Regions from separate parts of the Homo sapiens genome. Here regions 1, 2 and 4 are each linked to region 3. Evidence: promoter capture Hi-C in 16 types of primary human blood cells and fetal thymus (Javierre and others, 2016). All regions are on one chromosome and are shown on one strand. Each heading gives the region's core, a stretch centred on a gene start or on the middle of the fragment in contact. The rest is flanking DNA. Distances are from core to core; before and after follow the strand shown.

Region 1 (2,703 bases), core at 128-2,627, 6.8 Mb before region 3:
TACATTTCTGGGTTGCATTCTCTAGAGTGCCTTTTGCTAAATAAATGGCCAAAAATAACTTTCCCTTCCAGTAAGATTTCATGATTCGGCACACTCAACGTTCACTATAAAAGCTTAAAGTGAAGAGCACGAAACAAGCCTGGGAGCAAGAAACAGGCGAGAAAAAGCGATGGATACAGGAGGGTGAGGCCCACATTCCCACAAAAGTGCTTTCTGTTTCAGACAAATCTCGGCAATAAGAAAGTTGTCTTTATTCAGGTATCTACATCACACTTAGGTTTGGAAGAAGCAGATGGATAGGAATTAGTAGGATCTTCCAGGAGTCCCAGGTTCTCCCGGAAGAGGCAAATTAGAAAAAGCGCAGCAGCCCTGGGTAGGGGCCCAGGGCCCGGAGCCAGGGTCTGGGCTAATCAGCCCCTCCCAAGCCCAGGGCGGCCATCAGGTTGGGGATGCAGGTCACACCCCCGCCTGACCCCTTTTCTTTTCCAGAGCAGCAGCTCCAGATACTTATGAGAAAAGTTACACCTCTGGTCATTTGCTGGGTGACATCAAAAATGGGAGTGGAGTGGTCAGGCTTGCCTGGCCTCTGAAGGGCGGCCGAAGCCCTCCTTCACTGAGATTGCTCTAAACGCAAAGCTCATCTAGGAGCCATCCAGGCGTTTTTTTGTTTTTGTTTTTGTTTTTTCTTCCATAGCGTGGCTTTATTGGAGAACCCCGGGCTTTCTCTGTTTTCGTGGGCGATCTCTTGCCTCTTCCCATTTCATTTTAGCCGTCACGGGGCCCAGTAGAGTACTTTGCATTAAGTTATCCGTATCCAGGAAGATGTCCTCTCATCCACTTTACCAAAAAGGACCGGGAGAACCCCAGCCATCTCCTGCCCACGGGAGTGTGCGCTCATCCACACAGACGGCTTCAAGCCGCCCAGGGCCTGGGACCCGTTTCCAGATGCCCTGCGAAGTGGTGTCCACAGCAGCGGTGCCCCACTCCAGGCCTGGCGCACTCTTTTGGCCAAGGAGGCGCACGAATACCCTCGGGCCCCCGACGAAAGAGAGGGGCTCAGGTCCTTGCAAGGGGGCCTCCCCGCGGAGGAGCCCCGCGCGTGGCCCAGGAGGCCTCTCCTCCAGGTGGCTAGCGCTGGGCGCAGCTGCGGCCCCGGGGCACGGTGGCAGGCGGGCCGCTGGGCCGCCTACGGGCACCTCCACGCGCCCCCGCTCGGCCCTAGCCCGCCGCCCGCGGTGGAAGGCAGTGTGGCGCGTGCGCACTGGCGTGCTCGCGGCCGGGCCCGTGGGCTCTCCCGGGAGGGCGGGAGGTGGGAACGTGGGAAGGCGCGGGGCCGCCCACCTCCCGGCCCGCAGCCGGCGCCGCCGACACCTCGCGGCCGGGGCGCCCGCGATGTCCGTCGAGTGAGCGGCACAGGTAAGCGCGCTCTCGATCCCGTCGGGGGCTCCCCGCCCCAGCCCGCGGCCCCCAGGCGGCCGCGGCGCCAGCAAAGTTGAACTTCGCGCGTGGCGGGCCGGACACTGAACGCTGGGGGCCGGGTTGCCGGGGCCCCGGAGCCGGGTGCGCTCCTCTCGCCTACGGGAGCGCGGGCGGGGCTGCGGCGGAGGCGCGGGGTGGGACTGTGGAGGCAGGAGCCCCTGACCATGAGCTGCGCCCAGGCCTGGCCTCGCAGTGAACTTTTGCGCCGCGCCCTGGCAGCGTCTTGGTTCCTGGCGAGCACTGCCTGGGAGGCCTCCGTTGGCCTCTGCTCGCGGCCTTCCCGGCGGGCCTGCGGGGAGGCGATCGCGTGCCAGGGATTCTCGGCGCGGGGGAGGCGCGTACCGGCACGGGCGAAGATCCGGGGTTCCGAGGATTTAGCTGAAGGACCCCGCGTTTTTCACTCTCCGTCTTCCCCCAGTACAAACGCCAGACCCTTGGAGAGAGGGATGGGGAAGGTCGAAGCGCCTAGATGCCTGGACGACAACGCAGGAAGCAATTAAAACTCCTCCTTTCGGATTAACAACCAAAAATTGATCCATGTGTCAGGAATACCATTGATTTATGAAAGGTGCTTATTTCTCTGGTATGGAGAATTTTATGTTCTCCAGGTGAAACCGAGTTCACCCAGCTCCAGCGTAGATTGATGTTTTAATAAAAATAAATAAAGGGGAAAAGCTCGCCTGGTCTTTGGGGACATCAAGTCTCAAATCGCAGAGTTAGACTAACAAATCAAATTGCATTATCTTTACATTTCATATCTTTTAATCTTGTACCTAAAAATCGCAGGCAGGAGAGCGCCTTCATTTCGAAAGTTTTAATATAGTGCTTAAAAGTCCGCATAACTAGCAATCAGTGTTTCATAAGCAAAATGGCACGGGAGCGTCGGGTAATTGTGATAAGTGGCAGGCGGCGCGGGGCGAGGGCGGCGGCGGCGGGAGGAGGAGCGGGCTCTGGACGCTGAGAGGGAGGAGGCGGCGGCCGCCCGGAGCCGCGCGGCGCCCGTAGATGGCGCCCTGGCCCCACGCTAGGCCCGGGATCCGCGGCTCCGTCGGGCGGCGCGCGGGCGGGAGAGCCGGCGGGGGCGCGGCGCTCGGGGCTCCACGCTTGCGGTAGACTTGGACCGGGGCGGCGCGGCTAAGGAGGAAAAAAAAATTAAGCTTATTGTTGCCATTTTTAATTTAAGGCCTGGGCAGTCGTTTGGGGCGGATGGGGGTCCGCGAGTCC
Region 2 (2,700 bases), core at 164-2,663, 5.6 Mb after region 3:
AGACTAAGAAGCCGCGGGTCTGGACTGAAGGGGCGCAAAGTGGGTGGTGAACAGGGTCGAACGCAGTCGAAAGCAAGCCTGGCGGCCGAGTCCTGTCCGCGCCCCTCGGAGCCAGGACGGTTGGGGGCATTGCCGAGGGTACCAGGAGCCTGGGGATCCCGCGGGCTCTGGGCTCCGCGGCGCCGGGCACGCACAGCCCAGCCTGCTCTGATTCGAGCGCACTGGGGGACAACTTCTCCGTTCGCACCCCTTCCCAAAGGGTCAAGCGGCCCGCAGGCCATCACTCCAAACCAGTCGTAGCTTCGGAGACTGGGGATCGACACCACGCCCGGCCCCGCGCCGCCTAGTTTCCCAACAGGGCGCGCTGGCCCGCGAGCCGGAGGAACCTCCGCCCAGGCCTTGCCAAGCGCCCACCCGGAGCAGGCCGGGGGCAGTGAAGGATGCGGCGGGAGCGGCGCGCTGCAGTTCCGCGACGTGGCACGTACCTTGGAAGCGATGACCCAGATATCGGTAGCGGTGGATGAGCCAGGGGTAGAAGGTGGACGGATCCCGCTGCTGCGAGGCGAATAGGGGGTGTGGCGAGTGCGAGGAGGGTAGGGGGTGGGCGGCCAGGGCGTGCGGCGGCGGCACCGGGTGCACTGGCACGGCGGGGTTGGGCGGGTGCGAGACCGCCTCGGCGAACACCAAGTCCGGGTTGGAGTAGACGCCCCTACCGGCGGCGGCGGCGGCGGCCGAGTGGAAGCCGTTGAGGAACGGATTTATGGGGCTGGAGTTAGCGTAGCTGAGTGCCGCGGGACGGATGGGGTCCTCGGAGCGCGAGGCGGGCAGGGGACTGTCCTTGGCCACCAGCGACTCGATGGTGAAGCAGCGCTTGGGCGCCGGCTGGAACATGCTGCGCCGAGGAGCGGGCGCCCTGGGCTCCCAGCTCCTGGCGACCGCCGCACGCTGCCTCCGCCGCCCGCTGCCCGCGGCGAGGACGGACGAGAATTGGGGACTCGTTTGTTTGGGGTGGGGGTGGGGGTGGGGGGAAGGAAAGGAAGAAAGAAAGGAAAGGAAAGGAAAAAGGAAAGGAGGGGGGAGGGAGAGGGAGAGGCAAAGCCGAGGATCCCGAGAATCTTGCACCAAACGCGCCCAACCTGAAGAGAGGGGGGAAAATCCTTCCAGAAGAATTTGCAGGCGTGGATTGGGGTAATTTTTTTTCTTTTTTTTTCTTTTTTTTTCTTTTTTTTTTTTTTTTTTTTTTTTGGCGAGATGGCGTGGGGGGATCGGAGTTAGAGGCAGGGAGGAGAAGGGGGGAAAGTTCTCGGGGGAGGCAAAAAAAAAAAAAAGTTTTTTCTCCTCTGCAAAAGGCGGGCAGGGCGCCCTAAGTCCAAGGACAATCCATGGAAGTGTTCGCTTCTTCACAAGTTGTGCAAACGATTTGTTAGTTCATGAGCCTAATTAGTGCGGGGATCACATAAACAGCTTCCTCCGAAGCCTGGTAAATGGCTTGATGATTGGTCGCTATTACTCGCCCTGAGGTGGAAGGGGGGAGACTCTTTAAAGTGCGTCAGAGGGAGGTGAGCGCCTGGGAACCCGGAGGCCTGGATCCGGGCCGAGAGTGGAACGGAGTCGGCGCCGCCGCCTCGGCTGAGCCTTCTGCCGCCCACCGGGCGGCCGGGCTTCTCCGCGCCTTCGCCCCTCGCTCCCAGCTCACTCGCTCCTGCGGCGCCCGCTGCGGCTTCTCCTCCTCCTTCGCCTCCTCCTCTTCCTCCAGTTTCTTCTTCTCCTCCTCCTCCTCTTCTTCCTCCTCCTCCTCTTCTTCCTCCTCCTCTTTCCCCACCTACTCCCCCTCAGCCACCGCCTCCTCCTCCACCAGCACCACTCCCTCCGGGGCACCCCGGTCCCTGCAGAGTCCCTGGCCGGCGCCGCCTCCGCTGCGGCCCCCTGAATCCCGAGCCTGCCTCGCCCAAGCTGGTAGGACAGAAGGACAGACAGATTCCTCTAGCCTAGCGCTCCGCCGCTGCTGCCTTACGCGGCCCCGCGTCGGGAGAACTGGGATCGCCCCAAGAGCACCGCGAGGGTAAGCGGGCAGGGGCTGGTTCCCGGGCTAAAGGCGCCGTTCGGTTATACCAATCCCCACACTTAGCAAAACTCCCAGCGGTTTCCTAGGCCAGGAGGGATCCTGGAGTGAGGGGTACGGGGTCCTCCCACCCCATCAACCACGCTTAGCCTCGAGGTCCCAGGGTCGGTGCGTTCGCGATTCTTGACCCGGCTCGTTCGTTTGCGAGTTGAGACCGGGAGCTGCCGACCCCGCCGGAGCAGTGGGCTTCCAACTCTCTCCCTCTCTCGCCCCACGGTCTCTAGCGTTTTCTGTCTGGGAGGGTGCTCACCTCCTTCCCCAAAACAATTCCTTCTGGAATATCTGGGACCGGCAGTCCAAGGTCAGGGGAGAGCCCGATATGGTGCTACTGTACTATTAAGGTTCCGTCGTAATTATTTTTGTCAGTGTGGTCAATGTTATTATTATTATAGATGATATTATTTTATTATTATTATTTCTATTATTATTATTATGCCATCTGTTGTCCCGGGGTTGGTGGGGGGGTGGTGGTTGCTGTGCAAACCCAGTGCAACTAACGACTACGGATCGCATCTCCGGTCCCGGGCCGTGTCCGCATTTTCGAGCTCGCCTTCGGTTTTGGGATGATTTTAGGACCG
Region 3 (3,040 bases), core at 159-2,658:
GAAGACCTGGCTGCGCGAGAAGACTGTGCGCGTCTTCTTCTTGCGGCACGCCGGCTTCTTCTCTGGACTTTCAGCGCCCTTCTTCCAGTCTTCTGCGCCCGGAGTGGCCGCCGCCGCCCCTACGCTCGCCCCGGCCGCGCCTGGCGCCGCTTCGCCTTCCTTTTTGCTTTCCTCGGAGTCGCTCTCCTCCAGAATGATCTCGTCCGGGCTCTTGGAGTCCAGCTCCTTGTGATCGGGGTCGGCCTTGAGCAGTGGCTCCGGAGAGTCGCGGTCTGTGCCGGAGGCGGGGGAGGAGTCTCTCAGCAAGGCCTTCTCCGAGGCTGGGGAGACAGACAGACGGACGCACACACATGCACACCGACACAGCCTTGAGCGAGGCCCGGCGCCTGGGGACGGCAGGCTCAACCCGCGCCGGCCTCCAGGTCCCAGGCCATGAGGCCTCACCATTCCCGCGGGCTGCCTCCTTCTCGGCTGGGCCAGAGAAGGGACGCCGAGTCCTGGGATCCCCCTCCTCCCGAGGACAGGCAAGCAGATGGTGGTAGCGCGGCCACCTCCTTCCATTCCCTCAGCTTCCTCGCCAGGGGCCGGCAGAACGGTTCCCTTTCGGCTTAGGCGCATTGGAATCACCCCCTCCTTCCAGGCCGTGTCCCAAGCCCCGGCCGTCCGAAGCCTCCCTATTCACGCCCGAGGCCACTTTTCCCGGGAAGCACCGTGCCCGGGGCTCCAATTCCACTTCTTTTCTCACCAAGTGGGATTGGATTAACGGGCAGCGCAACCCAGCGCGAGGGCAGGCTAGGGGCCGAAAAAAACTGACCGAGCAGAGGGTTTGCGGGTGCTGGGGTCCCAGAACTGCGGAGGGAAGCAGCGCGGGGCGGGGACGGGGCGGGCGCGCAGGGGGACAACGAAAGTTCAAAGAGAGGTCGGTACCTTCAGGTCGCGGGAGGTGGCCGCCGGCGGGGGTCAGGGTGTAGGGGTACCACCAGGCTGGGGAGCGCTCCAGGTAGTGCGCGGGCAGGGCAAACCTCTGCGCCGGGATCTCAAAGCGAGGGAAAGCCAGGTCGCCCACCTGCGAGAGCGCGAAGCCCGCGGCGCCCTCCAGGGCCCCCTTGGCCGCCGCGGCAGCGGCAGCGGCGGCGGCGGCGGCAGCCGAGGCTGGCGCGAAGAGCGTCCGTGGGGGCGGCTGAGGCTTAGGGGGCGGCCGGTGGTGGTCTCCGTTGAGCAGGTTCTTGATGGAGAACGGGGACTCCTTGGGAGCGGGTGGGGGGGGCGGCGGCGGTTGGGGCTGTGCGCTGGCGGTGCCGGCAGCGTCCGGCCCGGGTTCCGGCATGGTCCCCTCTCCTCCGGGTCCCCGGGAGGGAGGGAGCGGGACAGGCGGGCGGCGGGGCGAGCAGGCGAGAGGCCGGAAATCAGACCATAAACGGAACTCAACTACGGGGCGCAAAGTCGGGGGCCGCCCCGGGCGCAAATCCAACGGCGGGAGGGCGGAGTGAGGACCCAGACGGGCGGGCTCGCATGAGGGAGGGGTGCGGAGGGGCGGGGAGCGGCCCTGCCGCGGCACCGAGGGATCGAGGCGGCTCGGCTGCGGCTGCGGCTCCCGCGGAGGAGGCAGCAAGAGCAGTCCCCGGCTCGAGGCTGCGTCAATCCGGCGCCGGATGCTAATGATGAAATCAAAATGTCATCCAAGTTAAATGCGGGGAGTATACGGCGATTGGGCGCGTACAATGGCAAATGGGATTAGGCAGGCGAAGGCTCAGCCGAGCCCCGGCCCCGCAGCCGCCTCCGCCACCGCCCCCTCCTCGCCTTCCCTCGGATTTTGGCGCTTTGGCTTCGGGCTATAAGAGCCCGCCCGTTATTGGCTTTATATAGTCCAATTAGGCAGCAAATGAGGACAAGCCTATTAGCACAAAAGGATATTGGCTCCCGCTAAAGAGGCACTCGGAGCGCTCCTGCGAGCGCAGGAGGCGAGCGAGGGACGCGGAGCAGGCGGCGCCCTTGGCCGAAGCGCACTAACGGCCGCGAGCCCGGAGACCGCGCCTGCCTCTCCCCCCTGCGGCGCAGGGACCCGCTTCCCGCCGCCAGGCCTGCGGGAGGGGGGAGGGGCGGACCAGGCCCTCCCGGGTCACCTCGGGGTTATCTGCGCTCGCAGCTGCCGCTCCCCCGCCCCCTGGGGCTGGACAGGGGCCCGCCGCCCCCACGCAGCTGGAGAGCCACGCAGCGCCGGCCCAAGAGGCAGGACGTGACCTCGGCCCTCGGAGAACTCATCATTTTCCTACCCTTTGGGGTCCGGCGACCTCGGTATTTTTCCTAAAGCCTGCTAGGAAGGGCGAGGCCAAGAAGAGAGGGATTTGGGTTCCCCACCCACCATCCAGCCGATAGTAAGGGAATCCAGGTGTAAGTCCTCGCACTGCGTCTTCGGACTCAGAAATCCGCGTGGCCTTGGCCTTTAGCCCTGGAAAACCGAAGAGTGAGCCTTCCCCCGGGACCAGGAGTGGGTGTGCCTGTGTGCGTATGCGCGCTGACCCGGCCAAAACCCGCGCGTCACTCGGTGGGGCTGCTGGGGCAACAGCTTCTCGGCACCGACGGCTGCTCTCGGAAGGGCACCCCTCTGCTCTGGCCGCCGGTGCCCAAGGCTCGCGGATCAACTCCGAGTCTGTGACCCCGACGACAGCACTTTCTCCCAGGAAGTCTCTCCGGCCAGCTGGCGTTTGGAGCTGTCTAACTAACGCTTTAATGGGGGCAAGGTGAACCGAAGGCGCAGCGGCGTAGCTTCCTCCGCCGCGGCAAGCAGCGGCATCCGCTGCGCGTCTCGACGGCAGCGAAGTCCTTAGAGAACCACACTGGACCTTTGCAGAACGGCTTAGTGAAAGGACATTCCACTCCACTGGCTTTAAAAACAGCTCCCCGGTTCGCACGAGAAGCCCATGAGGCAGACATTTAAGACTCATGATTTAAGCATCAAGTAAATCAGAATTGTTTGTGAGGTCCCCTCCCGAGAGACAGCTTTCTTATCAGAGAAAGGTGACAAACTGGCCTCACCCTC
Region 4 (2,700 bases), core at 51-2,550, 6.8 Mb before region 3:
AGCCGGGTATGAACGTGCAGGGGTGGAGGCAAGGGCTGGAAGCAGGGCTGTCAGAAGCTATACTCTGGGAGGCATGTTGACGGAAAGCATCCTGCACCGCTGCGGCAGCCTTATCAGGTGAGGAGCGAAGATATTGCAGTGCCTGTAATTGTGTTAGGATGGCATGGGTGAATTGGATTACTTTATGGAAAGCCGTCCAAACTCGAGGTTCTGTTACGCATGCTTACAGGAAGCAAATAATTACTCTGTGCACCAGAAGATAATTGGGGCTGGCCAGAGGCCTTCTCGTGATGCCGAAGAAAGCAGGAGAAGCTGGCCTCGTCAAAGCCTTTAGGAGACAGACCAGGAGGACGGTGATCTTTGCTAGGCATAGGTGGCTCACTGTGATGCTGTAATTGTTGGTTACTTTTTAAAGATGGTGAATAATTTATCAGAATTCAAACAGTGGCAAAGGGAGACACGTTGAAGAAGATAAAAATTCCAAGCTCTAATGATGGAAATTGTCATTGCAGACAGGAAGTGATTGACAAGTGGGGGTACAGGAAGTGAAAACTCAAGGAGCTTAACCTGCAGTTGGCAAAGCTTCTGCAGCCTACACTTGGAGAAAATGAAAACCATTCCCTCCGTCAGCTTGCCAGAACACAAGCTCCTCTTGTTTGTTTATCTTAATAGCAAATCTCCCAAAAATGTTTGTGGTCCAAACTCTATATAATGAGACATTATGCTGGCATTATTCATGCTTTAATAAAAATATGGCTATCATTTAGAAAAATTAGTGCAGTAATTTCATGGGTTAAGGGGTTTTTTTTTGTTGTTGTTCTTGTTGAATTTTATAAGCTTCTTAGACTTTGGGGTAACCAGCGTTCATTAAATTGTAGAAGCTTGAGAAAACTGTTTTCAAAACGATGTTTTCAGAAAAAGGTCAGACATATCTGTCAAAAGAGTAAATGCTATAAATTTGCCAACAATTCGATAGAGAGCACTGCAGGGAGGGGTATAGGGAAACTCTTATTTTAGTTGTTTTTGAATCACTCATTTCCCCTTCCCCTTAAAAACAACACAAATGAAAACGATCCCTCTCCAATTCCTTCGCTGGAAGTTGCTCAGCTAGAAAATACTCAAAATTCATGCAGGGCTGTGGTGCCCGAGTGGATGGGGCGCATCCTCTGCAAACGGTGGTGGGGGCAGCAGCCGCGCCTTCCCAGTAATTCACTAGGAAATGAGTTTAACATGTGCGGAAAGGAAGGGGCTCGCGGTTGTGTTGTTGTAGGACATGGAGCCCAGGCCCCGCGAACGGAAGGAGTCGGCTCCAGCGTGTCTCTGCTGGAAGACGGAGCTGCCTGCACATCTGGAGAGGAGGCCGTGCATTTGCCCAGACAGGCAGCTCCAGCCGCCGCCCCTGCCTCCGCCCCCCTCCCCTCCCTCCTCCCTCCTCCCTCCTCCCTCCACCCTCCACCCTCCTGCCTATATTTTCCTCTGTCCCTCTCAGCAGAAAGCAGTTGGGGGCAGGGTGCCATGTTAAAGCACAGAAGGAGACAAAACTTTGGCAGTGTTTAAGGCCCTAAAAGCATTTGCCCTTGTGATGATGAATTTACAAAGGGAGAAAGACCAACCCTGACCATTGAGGCCTGCCAGCTGAGTCCAGGTTTCCACAATGGTTTGGTAAGGAACTGCACCCCCTCCCGCTTTCTCTAAGTTTTCATTGAATCAGAAAGCTTGCACAGAGATGGCCAATCTGGATGTTAGGGAGCTGCTGAAGAACAGGTCTGGAGGCCTGTGCCTGGGCTGGGGCCATCCGAGGGTGACATATGTGCAGTACAAGCCCGGGATTTGATTATGGGCATGGGCAGGCAGCGTGCGCCTTCCCCAGGCGTGCATGTGGGGATCCCTAGCAGGGTCACCCCAACTCTGGGCAGTGATGGGGCCTGCATCAAAGGTCACGTTCCCCCACGAGTCCCATCACTTGGAACAGGGTCATTTAGGCCCCATGGGGGAGTGTCCCTTTTATTTGAGGTAACACCCAGGAAAGCCGGCTTAGTCTTCTTGGCACTGGAGCCTGGGATGCTGCTCACTGGTTTAGGGAGGGGCTCCTCCCTGAGTGCCCCCTAAGTTTTCTTTTTCTCTTTTCTTTTCTTTTCTGTGTGTGTTTTTGAGACGGAGTTTTGCTCTTGTTGCCCCAAGCTGGAGTACAATGGCACGATCTCGGCTCACCGCAACCTCCGCTTCCCGGGTTCAAGTGATTCTCCTGCCTCAGCCTACCGAGTAGCTGGGATTACAGGCATGTGCCACCATGCCCAGCTAATTTTGTATTTTTTTTAGTAGAGACAGGGTTTCTCCATGTTGGTCAGGCTGGTCTTGAACTCCCGACCTCAGGTGATCCTCGGGCCTTGGCCTCCCAAAGTGCTGGGATTACAGGCATGAGCCACTGCACGAGTGCCTCTTAAGTTTTGTAAGAACTTCAGCACCAGGGGATATGGCTGGCAGGGGCCTAAATGCTCTTCTGACAGATTAATGCAGGTGTCCTTTCCAAGTTTTCATTGTCAAGAACCACACGTCCGGCTCTGCAGAATGACATCCCATAGTCAGGAGGAAGGACTGGGAGATGCAAACAGCCTGGGGGGCAGGGCATGAAGCAGGGACATTGAAGCCACACCAGCAACAGGCACCCCTAACCTGGCCTTGTCTTCCTCTGCATCTGAT

Evidence for each region. The method cuts DNA at HindIII sites, captures the fragments that hold promoters and counts their contacts. A CHiCAGO score of 5 or more calls a contact.
Region 1: a fragment that was not itself captured here is called in contact with the fragment with the promoter of HMX3 in region 3 in 2 of 17 cell types (total B cells and naive B cells); the score reaches 30.2 in total B cells.
Region 2: the fragment with the promoter of EMX2 here is called in contact with the fragment with the promoter of HMX3 in region 3 in 1 of 17 cell types (total B cells); the score reaches 5.9 in total B cells.
Region 4: a contact is called between a fragment that was not itself captured here and the fragment with the promoter of HMX3 in region 3, in 1 of 17 cell types (total B cells). The highest score is 7.8, in total B cells.

What each region holds. Positions count from the first base shown.
Region 1 is chr10:129,971,611-129,974,313 of GRCh38, reverse strand. No RefSeq gene overlaps it. Among named protein-coding and RNA genes, the nearest start is that of EBF3, 8.7 kb to the right of the region's middle. RefSeq lists enhancers at 532-1,415, 1,416-2,301. The HindIII fragment of the contact is 2,523 bases long and covers 116-2,638 here.
Region 2 is chr10:117,541,459-117,544,158 of GRCh38, reverse strand. It overlaps EMX2 (empty spiracles homeobox 2), which reads right to left and starts at 1,413. Exons shown (of 3, transcript NM_004098.4): 1 at 486-1,413. The coding sequence starts at 891. It also overlaps EMX2OS. RefSeq lists an enhancer at 1-198. The HindIII fragment of the contact is 6,949 bases long and covers 1-2,700 here.
Region 3 is chr10:123,134,338-123,137,377 of GRCh38, reverse strand. HMX3 (H6 family homeobox 3) reads right to left here and starts at 1,408. Exons shown (of 2, transcript NM_001105574.2): 1 at 928-1,408; 2 at 1-320. The coding sequence starts at 1,327. RefSeq lists enhancers at 1-60, 1,243-2,193 and silencers at 980-1,029, 1,040-1,449, 1,500-1,579, 1,960-2,089, 2,120-2,239. The HindIII fragment of the contact is 8,924 bases long and covers 1-3,040 here.
Region 4 is chr10:129,948,754-129,951,453 of GRCh38, reverse strand. All of the region lies in intron 6 of EBF3 (EBF transcription factor 3), which reads left to right. Among named protein-coding and RNA genes, the nearest start is that of EBF3, 14 kb to the left of the region's middle. RefSeq lists an enhancer at 1,528-2,362. The HindIII fragment of the contact is 834 bases long and covers 884-1,717 here.